Linked DNA regions of Homo sapiens: region 1 is linked to region 2. Evidence: promoter capture Hi-C in 16 types of primary human blood cells and fetal thymus (Javierre and others, 2016). All regions are on one chromosome and are shown on one strand. Each heading gives the region's core, a stretch centred on a gene start or on the middle of the fragment in contact. The rest is flanking DNA. Distances are from core to core; before and after follow the strand shown. Region 1 overlaps PPA1 (inorganic pyrophosphatase 1). Region 2 holds the start of PCBD1 (pterin-4 alpha-carbinolamine dehydratase 1).

Evidence for each region. Contacts are between HindIII fragments. The CHiCAGO score rates a contact against its expected background, and 5 or more counts as called.
Region 1: a contact is called between a fragment that was not itself captured here and the fragment with the promoter of PCBD1 in region 2, in 1 of 17 cell types (total B cells). The highest score is 6.1, in total B cells.

Annotation. Positions count from the first base shown.
Region 1 is chr10:70,222,577-70,229,416 of GRCh38, reverse strand. The region is part of intron 2 of PPA1 (inorganic pyrophosphatase 1); the gene reads left to right. Among named protein-coding and RNA genes, the nearest start is that of PPA1, 7.4 kb to the left of the region's middle. RefSeq lists an enhancer at 6,676-6,840. The HindIII fragment of the contact is 3,628 bases long and covers 3,777-6,840 here.
Region 2 is chr10:70,886,031-70,892,663 of GRCh38, reverse strand. PCBD1 (pterin-4 alpha-carbinolamine dehydratase 1) reads left to right here and starts at 4,099. Exons shown (of 4, transcript NM_000281.4): 1 at 4,099-4,133. The coding sequence starts at 4,131. RefSeq lists silencers at 3,983-4,232, 4,563-4,842. The HindIII fragment of the contact is 14,850 bases long and covers 1-6,633 here.

The DNA.
Region 1 (6,840 bases), core at 4,341-6,840, 660 kb after region 2:
AGTGTGGGGCAATTGTAATCCCACTTGGGAGGCTGTGCTGGGAGGATCACTTGAGTCCAGGAGTTTGAGACCAGACTGGGCAACATAGCAAGAACCTGTCTTAGGAAAATAAATAACAATAAAATATATATCAAAATAGTTATGATTCGTGGGACTGCCAGTGACTCTTGGTTTTATTTTCATTTTTGTCTTTTTATATTGTCTAATCTTTTTACAAAGAACATGTGTTATAAGAACAACTTTAAACAGTCATTTTAAAAAACACATCTTTTCTTACTCTCCTTTCCAATGGAAGCAGTTTGTACTGTATTTAGCAACTTAACACAAGGACAAATATCTTATTCTTTTTCTACCTTTCAGTTTTTTTCCTTCAGTAAGGAAGTTTGATTCACATTGAGTACAAAGGTTTTTGAGTTGTAAGAGTTACATAGGTTATTGACTTTCTTTAGCTAGATGTCAATATACAACACGAACATCACTTTGCAGTGCACGTCTAGAATAATAGTAATTTTGTTCTTGTGTGTGCTGTCTTACTGTTTTTCTGGGCCTGACTATTAGATAGAAATAGACACATTCATTGCACTTCTACCAGGAAGTTTGCTGCAGTTCTGTACTGCCTGAAATTCCAATTTTTACATTGCTTCCCAGGAGCCTTCCTGGGTAAGACTCCAATTAGAGGCAATGGAGCAAACAGCCCTAGGCCAATTATGTGCCACAAATACAGGAGGGACTTCTAATTGGCATGTGTTTTTCCTGTGGGAGTGTCAGAGTGGTATTTATTCAGAAACTCGAATTTGTTACATCTGATTTCCTGGGAGTTGATATAAACTGCAGAATCCTTCCCTCTTCAATTGGCCCCATTGGGTTGGCTTGAATTATCTGCTTGTTGTATAATAGCATGTATATCATACTGTAGCATCTCAGACCATTTTGAGCAATGAAGAGGTATAAAATGATGACCCTAAGTTTATTGATAATACCCTGGCATACAGGTATGCTACAGGTAGGAAAACATTTTCTTGACATAGAGCTATTTTCCCAGTGTTCTAAGTGACTGTATTCCTACCAAGGACCAGAATGATCATAGATGTTTTGGTACCTACTCTTATTGCTGCTTCAGGTTACTCCAAAATAGGAAACAGGCTACATTTTGGTGTCCTGTTAAGTGTGTTCACTTAGATTACTCTCAGACACTGAAGCCTTATAAGGGACTGGTTGTGTCTATAAAGTGGATTACTCAAAGGAAGACTCTGCCCTTGGCACGCCCTGTCCCAGCTCAAAAGCACAAGTTCTTATGACTCTGGATTTTACCAGTAGTCTAGACCTCAGTGGACCTTGGGCAGAAGCCTTCCTGCCTGAGAGGCTGGAAGGAATTCTTTTGTTTTGTTTTAAAGGAAGTTACTTGTTTAAAACACAAATAAAGGTGTGGTAGACATCATTTTGGATTATAGCCTTAAAAAAAAAATCTGATTAACTTGATTCATTAGAGTGTGATTTTCTTTCTTTTGTATAAAAAATCTATTGTGATTAAGTTTACATGAATACATTCTCACGGGCTTGGCCTTGGACTTTATTCCTAATATGGTCAGTCATCCGAGGGATTATAATGAGGGAATGTCATGATCTAGTGAGCATGTACCTTTAACACAGCTCAGTCAGCTCCACTAAGGAAAAATGTCCAAGGGCTCATATTGATATCAGACTAAGGAAAAATGCCCAAGGGCTCATATCCATATCAGACTTTTTTTTTTTTTTTTTTTTTTTTTGAGATAGGGTTTCACTTTGTCACTCAGGCTGGTGTGCAGTGGCATGATCTTGGCTTACTGCAGCTTCAACCTCTCAGGCACAAGTGATCCTCCTGCTCCAGCCTCCTGAATAGCTGGAACCACAGGCATACACCACCACGCCCAGCTAATTTTTCTATTTTTTTGTAGAGACAGGGTTTCCCTATGTTGCCCAGGCTGGTCTCGAACTCCTGGTTTCAAGCGATCTGCCCACCTCAGCCTCCAGAAGTGCTGGGGTTGCAGGCGTGAGCCACTGTGTCCAACCCATATCAGGACCTTTTAATGTGGATATTCAGTTTGGCATATGCCATTAGGTAATCAGTCCAGCCAGTTCTGGAAAATCTTGTGACTCGCGTACCCTGCTTTGATTATTTCCGAATCCAGTGGGTAGAGAAGGTAAAGGCAAGGGCTCACTGGATATTTTTAAATTGTAGGGATGTCCTTTGCTCTGGGTCAATTTTAGGATCAAATATAAAAGCACCTATAGCTCAGAGTATCTTCTAACATAAAACTTCTGAGATACCAGAAATTTTCCAAAACATGGTATAAACAGTATGAAACACTGGGTAGATAAAAGCTTTCTCTAAATCTTAAAGTGCTCAAATATCATGACCTGATTTTTTAGTTTTAGAAATCAGATATTTTTCTATTCCATATCTTAAACTTTCATGTTAAATTCTAGTTCTGACAATGTAGGGTTCTATTTTTTTCAGGTGATTGTTGGGAGCGTATAGAAGCATATATAAATATGGAATATGTGTTTCTTTTTTCCCCTTCTGAAAGAAAGTCAAGCCTCTAATCAAATAGATTGATGCTTCAGAAACTTAACAGAATATTATCTGCAATTTGGCATAAATGCATTTTTCTTGGGGAAGTTTCCACGCTCAAAATTATTAGTCATTGCAAAACAGAAAAGTTTGACAACTGGAAATGCAGACCCTTTTGCTTGATTTTGTAAAGACAGGAAAATAAACAGATTATGCTTAGAATATCTGTTTTCAAAATTTAGTCATCATAAAGCTTATCTGAAAAGAAAAAATAGCAAAAATAGCAGCTTTTTCTTTCTTTTTCTTTTTTTTTTTAAGACAGGGTCTCACTCTGTCACCCATGCAGTGCTGTGATCTTGGCTCACTGCAGGCTCCATCTCCTGGGCTCGAGCAATCCTCCCACCTCAGTCTCCTGAGTAGCTGGGACTACAGGCACACACCACCGTACCTGGCTAATTTTTTTGTATTGGTAGAGACAGGCTTTCGCTGGTCTCGAACTCCTGAGCTCAAACAGTCCACCCACCTCAGCTCCCAAAGTGCTGGGATTACAGGTGTGCGCTCCCACACCCAGCCAGCAGCTTATTCTTAATTATGACATGACAAATTAAGTTATTGCTCTACACAGGTACATATGGTAGTGTGTAGTAGCAAATACAGGCATTTGTTTGAGCTGCAATGAGTAGAAAATCTATGTAACTGGAAAACAAATGAGTATTACTAAAAGTTTTGTGTGTATGTGTTTTAATTTCTTTACTTTAATAAGTTAATGATCTCCCTTGGAATCTTAACACAATTTGTTGAACAAATGTTTTTTGGGTTGGTGTAAGTCATGTCTTTCTTTGCTAAGTCACAATTCTAAGTGAATAAGGGGCACAACAGTGTGAACTTCGGTCATCGTATTTCTTTCTGATAGCTTCTCAAATAGACTTCTGTCACTTTCGATGAAATACTTCAGGTATCCATATACTTTTAACAACTTAGAGTATATCCTTCTAGAATCATATAACCAACTTTACAGCCAAAACTTAGAATTAAGAGCCATTGTCATTTGGTGAGCAGTGAATAAGATAAAGTATTCTTGGAAATGGTGAAATCTGGTATACCTTTTCGAAAGCATCTTTATGGGGATGGAACATTTTCTTTTAACTACGTGAGCTCTTCTGATAGGGATTTTATACTCCAAAACTAGTCTATAAGTTCCAAAAAAAAAAAAAAAGTTAAAGCTTGGTTTGGATTAGTTTCTTGCTTTATGTTTATGCTCTAGATAAATTTAGAAGAAAATTCTCTCTACCTCTACTGTTTTTTCTCCAAATTTTATTGCAAAACAATAAAGATTAAAAAATGGGGGGTGGGCTGGGTGCCGTGGCTTATGCCCGTAATTCTAGCACTCTGGGCAGCCTAGGTGGACGAATTGCTTGAGCTCAGGAGTTCATGACCAGCCTCAGCAACATGGTGAAACCCGGTCTTTACCAAAAATAGAAAAAAAAAAATTAGCTGGGTGTGGTGGCAGGTGCCTGTGGTCCAGGAGGCAGAGGTAGGAGGATCACTTGAGCCCCGGAGACGGAGGTTGCAGTGAGCTGAGATCATGCCACTGCACTTCAGCCTGGGTGACAGGTGAGACTCTGTCTCTAAATAAATAAATAAATAAATAAGAGTGGTGGGACCACAGGGTGATTTTTGTGTTTCTTTCTAAGCCTGGTATTTACTAGATTTCTGAAGTTATCTAGAGAAACACACAATGAGTCAACTTGAAAATGCTAATGTCAGCCACTTGGTATAATTCTGTAGTATAGTTCATCGAATTTACCAAATCCAGGGTTAGAAATAAATCTCAATGCTGGGCGCGGTGGCTCATGCCTGTAATCCCAACACTTTGGGGGGCCAAGGTGGGCGGATCACCTGAGGTCGGGAGCTCGAGACCAGCCTGACCAACATGGAGAAACCCTGTCTCTACTAAAAATACAAAAATTAGCTGGGCATGGTGGTGCATGCCTGTAATCCCAGCTACTCGGGAGGCTGAGGCAGGAGAATTGCTTGAACCCGGGAGACGGAGGTTGCAGTGAGCCGAGATTGCACCATTGTGCTCCAGCCTGGGTAACAAGAGCGAAACTCTGTCTCAAAAAATAAAATAAAATAAATAAATAAGAAATAAGTCTCAATAAAGACACATTGAACTTAACTGCTAGGATTTAAAGACGTGCTGTAATTAAATTAAGAGCATGTTCCCTATATATGTACTTAACTGCATTAGTAATAACAGCCTACCAAATGGCCGTAGCCTATTTATTAGTAAACAACTTGTCAGACTACTGACTTGGTCCATAAGACCCTAACCAGTTTGGAGATGAGACGGGGCCTCACCATACTACTGTGATTAATATTCCTGTTTAATTAGTGAAGTTACACACCTAACCAAGATATAGGAGATATTTCTTCTATTCCTGAAACATTTTTATTTTAAATATTTTTGATTAATGGAGTGACATAATGTAGAGTTGTTGAGTTTCCAGTTTCCTTAGAATCTGGACATCTTTAATGTTTTGTTGTAACATCTTGACTACTTGATAAAATGATTGTAAATCTGGGAAGGGAAATAGACTTTTTTTTTTTTTTTTTTTTGTAGAGACAGGGTCTGTCTATGTTGCTCAGGCTGGTCTTGAACTCCTAGTCTAAGCAATCCTCTTGCCTCAGCCTCCCAAAGTGCTAGGTTTACAGGCACGAGCCACCATACCTGGCCTGAAATAGACAGTTATATTTCTGACTTTGGGAACAAGAGCTAAAGTTATAGTTTGCCTTTTCCCTTATCCCCCACTGGTTTATCAGCAAGGTAATTATTGAGTTTATCAAAATCATCCCTCTAGGGAGACTTAACTTCCTTCTTTTCTGAAACTGTTAACAGAGAGCTGAGAGCTCTGATGCCAGAGCAATGACTGAGACTCCAAAGCATGGTAGGATTGGAGGATGGAGTTCTGGGAAGTCCTAACAGTGGGAGTAACAAGATAGTAAATCCAAGATCCAGCTAAGTAAAAGCTGAAACCAGTTGGGATTAAAGAAGAAGGAATGAATTTGTAACTGGGTAGTACGAAATTTCTTAAAATCAGTATTTTTTAAGTGCGTGAATATTGGAATCATTAGAATGCATAAAAACAGTAATAGTTTTTATAGCAACTCTGTTGCTATAAAATTCATTGAATTTCTCATATCAGTTGCCCTGAAAAATCCTAAATATCACTGTTGTTCACCTAGTAGCAACTCTTTGAATTGTAGCCAGATGTCTAGAAGAAGGTTGTTCTTTAGTAGTAATTCCTGCTAAAGTATGTGGAACACCCCCTCCTTACAAGTACAGAGCTGGGCAGGATGGCTTGCACCTGTAGTCCCAGCTACTAGGGATGCATAGGCAGGAGGATCACTTGAGGCTAGGAATTAGAGACCAGCCTGCTCAACATAGTGTGACTTCATCTCCAAAAACATAATTAAAAAACAATTAGCCAGGTGTGGTGGTGCACACCTGTAGGCCCAGCTACTTAGGAGGCTGAGGCAGGAGGATTGCTTGAGACCAGGAGTTGGAGGCTGCAGTGAGCTATGATTGCGTCACTGTACTCCAGTCTGGATGACAGAGTGAGACCCCGTCTCTCTCTCTCTCTCTCTTTAAAAAAATGTTTTTTAAGAGACAGGGTCTTGCTATGTTGGTCAGGTTGGTCTTGAACTCTTGGCCTCAAGCGGTCCTCCTGCCTCTGCCTCCCAAAGTGCTAGGATTATAGACGTTAGTCGCCACGCCTGGCTGAGACAAGTATTACTACAGCATCTACATGCATTTGAAAGTGTGCTAGTATTCCATGCATAAAAAATGATGAGTTCATGTCCTTTGTAGGGACATGGATGAAGCTGGAAACCATCATTCTCAGCAAACTGTTGCAAGGACAAAAAACCAAACACCGCATTTCTCACTCATAGGTGGGAATTGAACAATGAGAACACGTGGACACAGGAAGGGGAACATCACACACCGGGGCCTGTTGTGGGGTGGGGGGAGGGGGAAAGGATAGTATTAGGAGATATACCTAATGCTAAATGATGAGTTAATGGGTGCAGCACACCAACATGCAACATGGCACATGTATACATATGTAACAAACCTGCACTTTGTGCACATATACCCTAAAACTTAAAGTATAATAATAAAAAAAAAGTGTGCTAAACATTGATTTTACAGATGAGTCACTCACCCCAAGCTGTAGCCTGAGGCCTACAAACTGGAAGTACCTGATTTAGCAGGCGAGAATTCTACC
Region 2 (6,633 bases), core at 2,850-5,349:
ATTTGAGCCCAAGAATTTGAGACCAGCCTGGCAACATAGAAATGTCCTGTCTCTGTAAAAAATTTAAAACATTATCCAGGCATGGTGACTACCTGGGGGAGCTGAGGCAGGAGGATCACTTGAGCCCAGGAGGTCAAGGCTGCAATGAGCTATGATTGCACCACTGCACTCCAGCCTGGGCGACAGAGCAAGACACTGTATCAAAACAAAGTCACATGGTGACATTTCTGCCATATTTGACTGGTCATACTGGGCCATCCCAGATTCAACATGGGTGAGAACTATGCAGGGTGTGAATATTGGGAGTCATGGTTCATTGGGGGCTATCTTTGGAGACTAACATCCTGCCTAACACTACATACCAAAAGGGACCTTTCACATTTAGGTCTTAAATCTATCTAACTATAAAGTTAACAAAAGAAAAGGGAGTATATTTTTGTAGCAGGGTGGGGAGAGGACTTATCAAATAAATTTTCAAATGCACAAAATTATAAGGCAGAGGGAAAAAAGATAAATCTTATTACACCAAAATATAAGATTTCTGCCCACAGACATCATGGATCTCATGCAAGAAGTCAGTATACAGATGGCAGAATGAGAGGAGATATTTGCAATATCAAAACTGACAAGCAATTAATGTCTAGATTTTATATAAACACCCACAAACCAACTAAAAAAAGAGAGCACTAAAAATTCTCAAAAATTGGCAAAGGATATTAAAAAGCAATTCACAAATAGTAACCCCCAAATGGTAACAAGCATATGAAGAGGTTCTCAAAATCATTAGTCATCAGAAAACAATGTAGAGTAAAACAATTGAAAGCGGCAGGAGGCAGACAATTTCCTAGGCAGATGGGGGTGGGTCCCCAGTGAAACCCCACCTTCAAGCCAAAAACAGCCTGGACTGCTGGTTTGGGATGAAACCCCTCAAACCAGGGTGAGAACTTCTGTTCCTGTTTGCCCACCCTTTCCTGATTGGTTCTTTCTGAATAATGCTTTTTAACCAATCAAATGTTGCCTTTTCTAATACTACCTACAGCCCGCCCCTCCCCAATCCTGTGCCTATAAAACCCCCTAGACTCAGCCACACTGAGATAGACAACCCCACCTTCTCAATCCCTCTCCACTGAGAGCTGTTTCATCGTCAATAAAATTCTCCATCCTCATCACCCTTCAACTGTCAGCATGACCTCATTCTTCTTGGATGCAGAACAAGAGCTCAGGACCCACCAAATGTGGGCACCCACAAAGGCTGTAACGCTGGCCCTCTACCCTCACTGGTGGAGGGCAGCTGCCCCACAGAACAGAAGCTGCAGCAGGGCCAAGCTGGTCCAGGAGCCACGGGCCAGAGTGGAGAAAGGGGCCGCCTGAGCTGCCAACATGCCGCTGTCCATCAGGCTGCAGATGGTGGAGATAAAAGAGCTATTTAGCACACTGTAACACCCCTCTCTGGGGCTTCAGGCACCCCTGCCTGGGTGCTGCCACAGTCTCCTTGGGGTGACACACCTGATCTGGCTGTGGGCCCCACACAGAGCCTGTTCCTGTGTCATGGCTCAGTGCAGCTGGCTGGACCCTGCATTCACTCGGTCACATGCTCCCTCCCGCCAGGGGCTGAGCATACAGTCGCAGTGGCCTTGTGAGCCATGGGCTGTAACACAAGCCAGATGGGGCCTGGCAAGCTGAGTAGATAAGGCACTCCCTGCTGCAACCTCAGCAAAGGGGTCAAGAAAAATCCTGCATCACAACAAGCTCTCATTTTATAGCTATTAGCCTGACAAAAAAATAAAAAGCTGGCTAATGGGAAGTGTGAGTATGTATGTGTAAGATGCATATGGAAATAGTACCCCCTCACACCATGCAGGAGAGAATGAGGACTGGTGTCCCCATCCTGGACATCATCTAGAACTATTTTGAGATACACACCCATGGGGGGAATTGCTGGATTTATAGGGTATGGATATACTTAAGTTGCCTAAGAAACTGCCCACAGCCCAGGGAGCAATTAGAGATGTTCACTGCAGCAGCATTGTTGTTTAACTCTGTGTACGTATGTGTTTGTGTGCCCACATGCTCACGGGCTTGGGAGGTGGTGGTAGCAGCAGAAAGTTGAAGGGAACCTGAGTGTCCATCACTGATAGAACAAGAAACCCATGGCAGATTCTCATTACAAAATACTAGGCTGCAGTTAAAAGCTACAGATTGAATATACATATAGCAACATGGGTAGATCTTAATTTTCCACTAAATACTCTGTTTTGTAAGAAACAGACTGAGAAATGTAATATATTTACATAATACCATTTACATAAATTTAAAAATACACATAGACGAAACAACACCACACATTTTGCAAGAACCTGTGCAAACAAAAATACACATTAACACATTAGAGAGGCTGCTATGGGCGGTGGTGGGGGGCGGGGAATAAAAGTGGAGCACAAGAATAAAAGTTAATAGAAAAATGTGAAATGTGAGAGGACTTTTCTAATCTGACTCTAAGACTTATTATAAAGCTATAATAATCAAGACAAGGTAGTGTTCTGTCATGACAGACAAACAGATCAATGGAACAGAAGAAAGGGCTCAGAAATAAACCCACATGTATACAGTCAATTGATATTTTACAAAGGTGCAAAGACAACTCAGTGGAGAAAGGAATAACTGAGTCGCCATGTGCAAAAGTGCATCTGGATCTATAACTTGAAGCATATAAAAATATTTACTCAAAGTGGATCACAGACTAAATGTAAAACCAAAAGCTATAAAACATAGGAGAAAACTTTTGATCTTGGGTTAGGCCAAGATTTCTATGTGTACAACATCAAAATAGAAATCCATAAAAGAAACATTTGATATATTGGATTTCATCAAAATTAAGAACGTTTGCTCTTTGAAAGGCACCATAAGATAATGCAAAGAAAATATTTGCAAATCACTGCCTGATCATGTCCTTATATCCAGAATAAAACACCCTCAAAACTCGATAAGAAGACAACCCAATTTCTTTTTTAATGGGCAGGAAATTCAAACATGCTATTCAATAAAAAAAACTTATCCTTAGCAAATAAGTACATGAAAAGACATTCAATACAATTACTAATCAAGGAAACTCAAAACCACAATGAGATACTGCTACACACCAATTAAAATTTAAAAGGCTGACTATATCAAGTGTTGGTGAGGACAGAGAACTGCAACCTTCATACACTGCTGCTAGGAATATAAAATGATACAACCATTTTGCAAAACAGTATGGCAGTTTCCTAATAAGTTATAAAAGTCCACCTACCACATGACCCAGGCATTCCATTCCTAAGTGTTTACTCAAGGAAAATTAAAACATACGTACTTTCGAAGATTTGTGCACCATATTCGCAGCAGCTTTATTTGTAATAGCCAAAAGGTAAACAACGCAAATGTCCAATAGTGAATCGCTAAACAAATTGTAGTCTATCTGTACAATGCAATACTATAAAATAAATTTTACTTAGCCATAAAAGGAAGAAACCATTGATATAGGCAACAACATGGCTGAACCCCAAAACAGTTATCCTGCCTAGTATATACTCTATGGTCCATTTACATAAAATTCTAGAAAATGCAAACTAATTTATAGTGACCTAAAGTACATCAGTGCTTGCCTGGCCAGGTGGTTTCGGGAGGAAGGGGTTACCAAAGGGCAAGGGAAAACTTGCAGGGATGATGATATGTTCATAATGTTGATCTCGGTGATGGTCTCACGAGGGAAACATTAAAATTTATCAAATTGTACACGTTGAATATGTGCAATTTATTGCATGTCAATTATATCCAAATAAGAGATTTTTATAAAGAAAAAAATAGGTATTCTGGCGCCCAGGGCCACCCAGCTGTAAGCGGCGGGGTGGGATTCCAACCCAGAAGCGGGCATTTGGAGCCCTCATGCTTCACCCTAGCTCCCTGAAACAAGCACGGAGGATGGCTCTGAGCAGCGAGGAAAGTGCTGGAAGCAAGCAGGCCGAGCGCGTCCCTGGCTGGGGACGTTAATCATTACCGGAGGGCGGCCCGAGCGCGGCCCCGCCCCGGGACGGCAGCCTGCGCGCCCGGCCGCCGCCTGCCCTCTCCGCTGGCCACCTGCTGCCGCCCGCGCCATGGTGAGTCCAGGGGTGCGCGGCCGCGATCGGGGCAGCGGGGCCGGGGCAGCCGCGGGCGAGGTGGGAGCGGGAAGGGGCGGGGGAAAGTCTTTTCGAGTCCCCTGCGGAGCCGCCGGGGTCCGAAAGTGGGGTCTCTGCCCGGCTCTCTGTCGCTGGCGGCGGGGAGGGGAAGCTGAAGCCCTGAGAGGGGCGGTGGCGGGTTCGAATCCCACCCAGTTGGGAGGCCAGGCCTGCCCTGACCCCGGCCAGTGCTTGTTCCGGGACCCTTCCGGGGGCGGGGCCTACGACCTTCCTGGGCCGGGGAAGACAGTCGTGGAGGAGTCCACGGATCTCGTCCCCTTGGTGGCCCGATTCTGCTTTATACTGGGGTGGGAGCGAGAGGGAGGCTGAGTTTGCGCGCTCGTGTGCGTGCCTGTCCGCTGCCCCTTCCCGCTGGCACTCTGGGTACGGGGTCTGCCTGGGACTCACGCTCTGCGCCGGTATGCTGGCCCCAGAGCCACTCCCCGCGCCGGCTTGAGGCCCGTGCCAGGCCACGGGGGCTTGGTGGCGCTGGAGCAGCCCTCCTCCCGTGAGCTTCCCCCACCCACCCCCGGGGCGGGGGCGGGGGCGGGGCCCTTGCTCTGCTGTAAGCTCGCGAGCTTCATCAGACCATTTCTGGTCCACAGGCCTTCGGAGCAGGCAAGACTGGGAGGGCCTTTTGATAGGAGAGGGACTTGGGGGAGGGAGGATGAGTGGGGCTGTTTGTGAGGGGCGCTGAGGTCCCAGAGATGCAGGCTTGGGAAATCGGTAACCACTCCCCACACCTCGCCAGAGGAGGCAAACGGGGCAGCGTCCCCCTCTCTGTCTCCAGAGCCGGCACCTGGAAGGTTTGTCAGTTCAGCCGCAGGCTGTGCGACCTGGGGGGTTCCAGAAGGCTCTACCGAGAAAGGGAAGCCTCCTAAGAGCTCACCTGGACTCACCCACCCCTTTAAGAGCCAAGGAAGTAAACAGTGGGCTCTGATGCTTTGGCTGACTTCTGGTTGTCTAGATACACGGACCAGGCGGTCAGCCACGGGGAGAAGGCCAGCTCTGGAGTAGAGACCTACCTACTGGGCAGATGATGCAAATCGCTGCTGCCATTCAATCCCTATAGTCATCCAGAGCCGAGGGGAAGAGAGGGGCCAAGCTACATCAGTCCAGAGAGAGCTCACGTTTTCAGGAGGGAAAACAGCAGGGAAAAAAGACGGACTTAGGAAAGCACTGCGATGCTTCAGCTACCCCAAATGCTACCAGGCCCATCACAAGCCTGCTTGCCTTAGGAAGTTTTTTTTTTGTAATGCAGATGACATTTGCTTTATAGCAGTGGAGTTTCCTAAAGTGTCCCATTGGCACCTCATGATGATCTGTGGAGGTGGAGGTTCTGCCAAGAGAGGTACAGCCACCTGGCTGGTAAATGGTGAAAGCGGGTCTCAAAACTCCTGCCAATCAACACATGGTGTCCAGTCTGCAGGCTGCCTCATAAAAGCTAAATCAACCTCCCTCACATTCCCTCCCCACCCCTAAGGGTATCTTTTCAATTCAGCACTCTATTTCTGCCCTGGGGTGGTGCTACTCTAGAAGCCTAGGTTCTGGGATCTGTTAAGCTCCTAGACCTGGATCCTCCTAGGATGAAACTGACCCTTGCTTCCTTGCTTTCTCTGAGGTTCCACTCATGGCCTGAATTGTGCCAATTTGGGCTGCCTTGAGGGCACTTCGCACATTAGGTAAATAGGATGGGGCACTAGGTTTGCCAGCTGCCTTTGGCCAAGTTCCTTCCACTTTGGCCTGAGCTTCCCAACCAGCCAGAAAAGCAGACGGAAAACCAGAGAAACCTAGCCCTGGCGGCTCAGGACCAGAGGCTGCCTGGGAGCATGACTGAGGACCTACTAGAGGTAGTGCCAACGGCGGTCAGCTGCAGTGTGGCTAAGAATGGGATGGACACTTATTTTAAATGTAGCTCCTTCGTCCAGCCCCAGCAATGCTGACACACAGACAACACTGCGCCATCACTGGCTAGGGGTGGGCGGGAAAGAACAGCAGACAAGTCGTTTCCCCTCTCTAGGCCTGTTTCCTCTTCAATACACGTGAAAGTTACGGTAGGGACGTGGGGTGCATATGATGAAGTACATAATAGGAAAAGGAAGGGGGGAGAGTCATGGGTACTCTTCCTGAGAGGTTGTGGAGTAACATATTTGCATCTGGGATTTATTTTGCTTTTACGCCCTCACTGATGTAATAATCTCATGGAGGGAAGGTCCGTAAGGCTTTGAGGGCAGGGTGGGGGAAGAGTGCTTCTCTGTCCCCGTCATATGAATTACATTGCTTTTGTGATTTCCCTTGTGTGTGTGTGGAGTGTTAAAACCCAAGACCTGAGGGCCTATCGGCAGACGAGCCTGGACCCCACCTCCTGGGCAGGGTGCCACCCTTGAGGCCTCCCAGCCTATTGCTCAAAGACCTGCTGCCCTTTGGTCACCCACGTCCA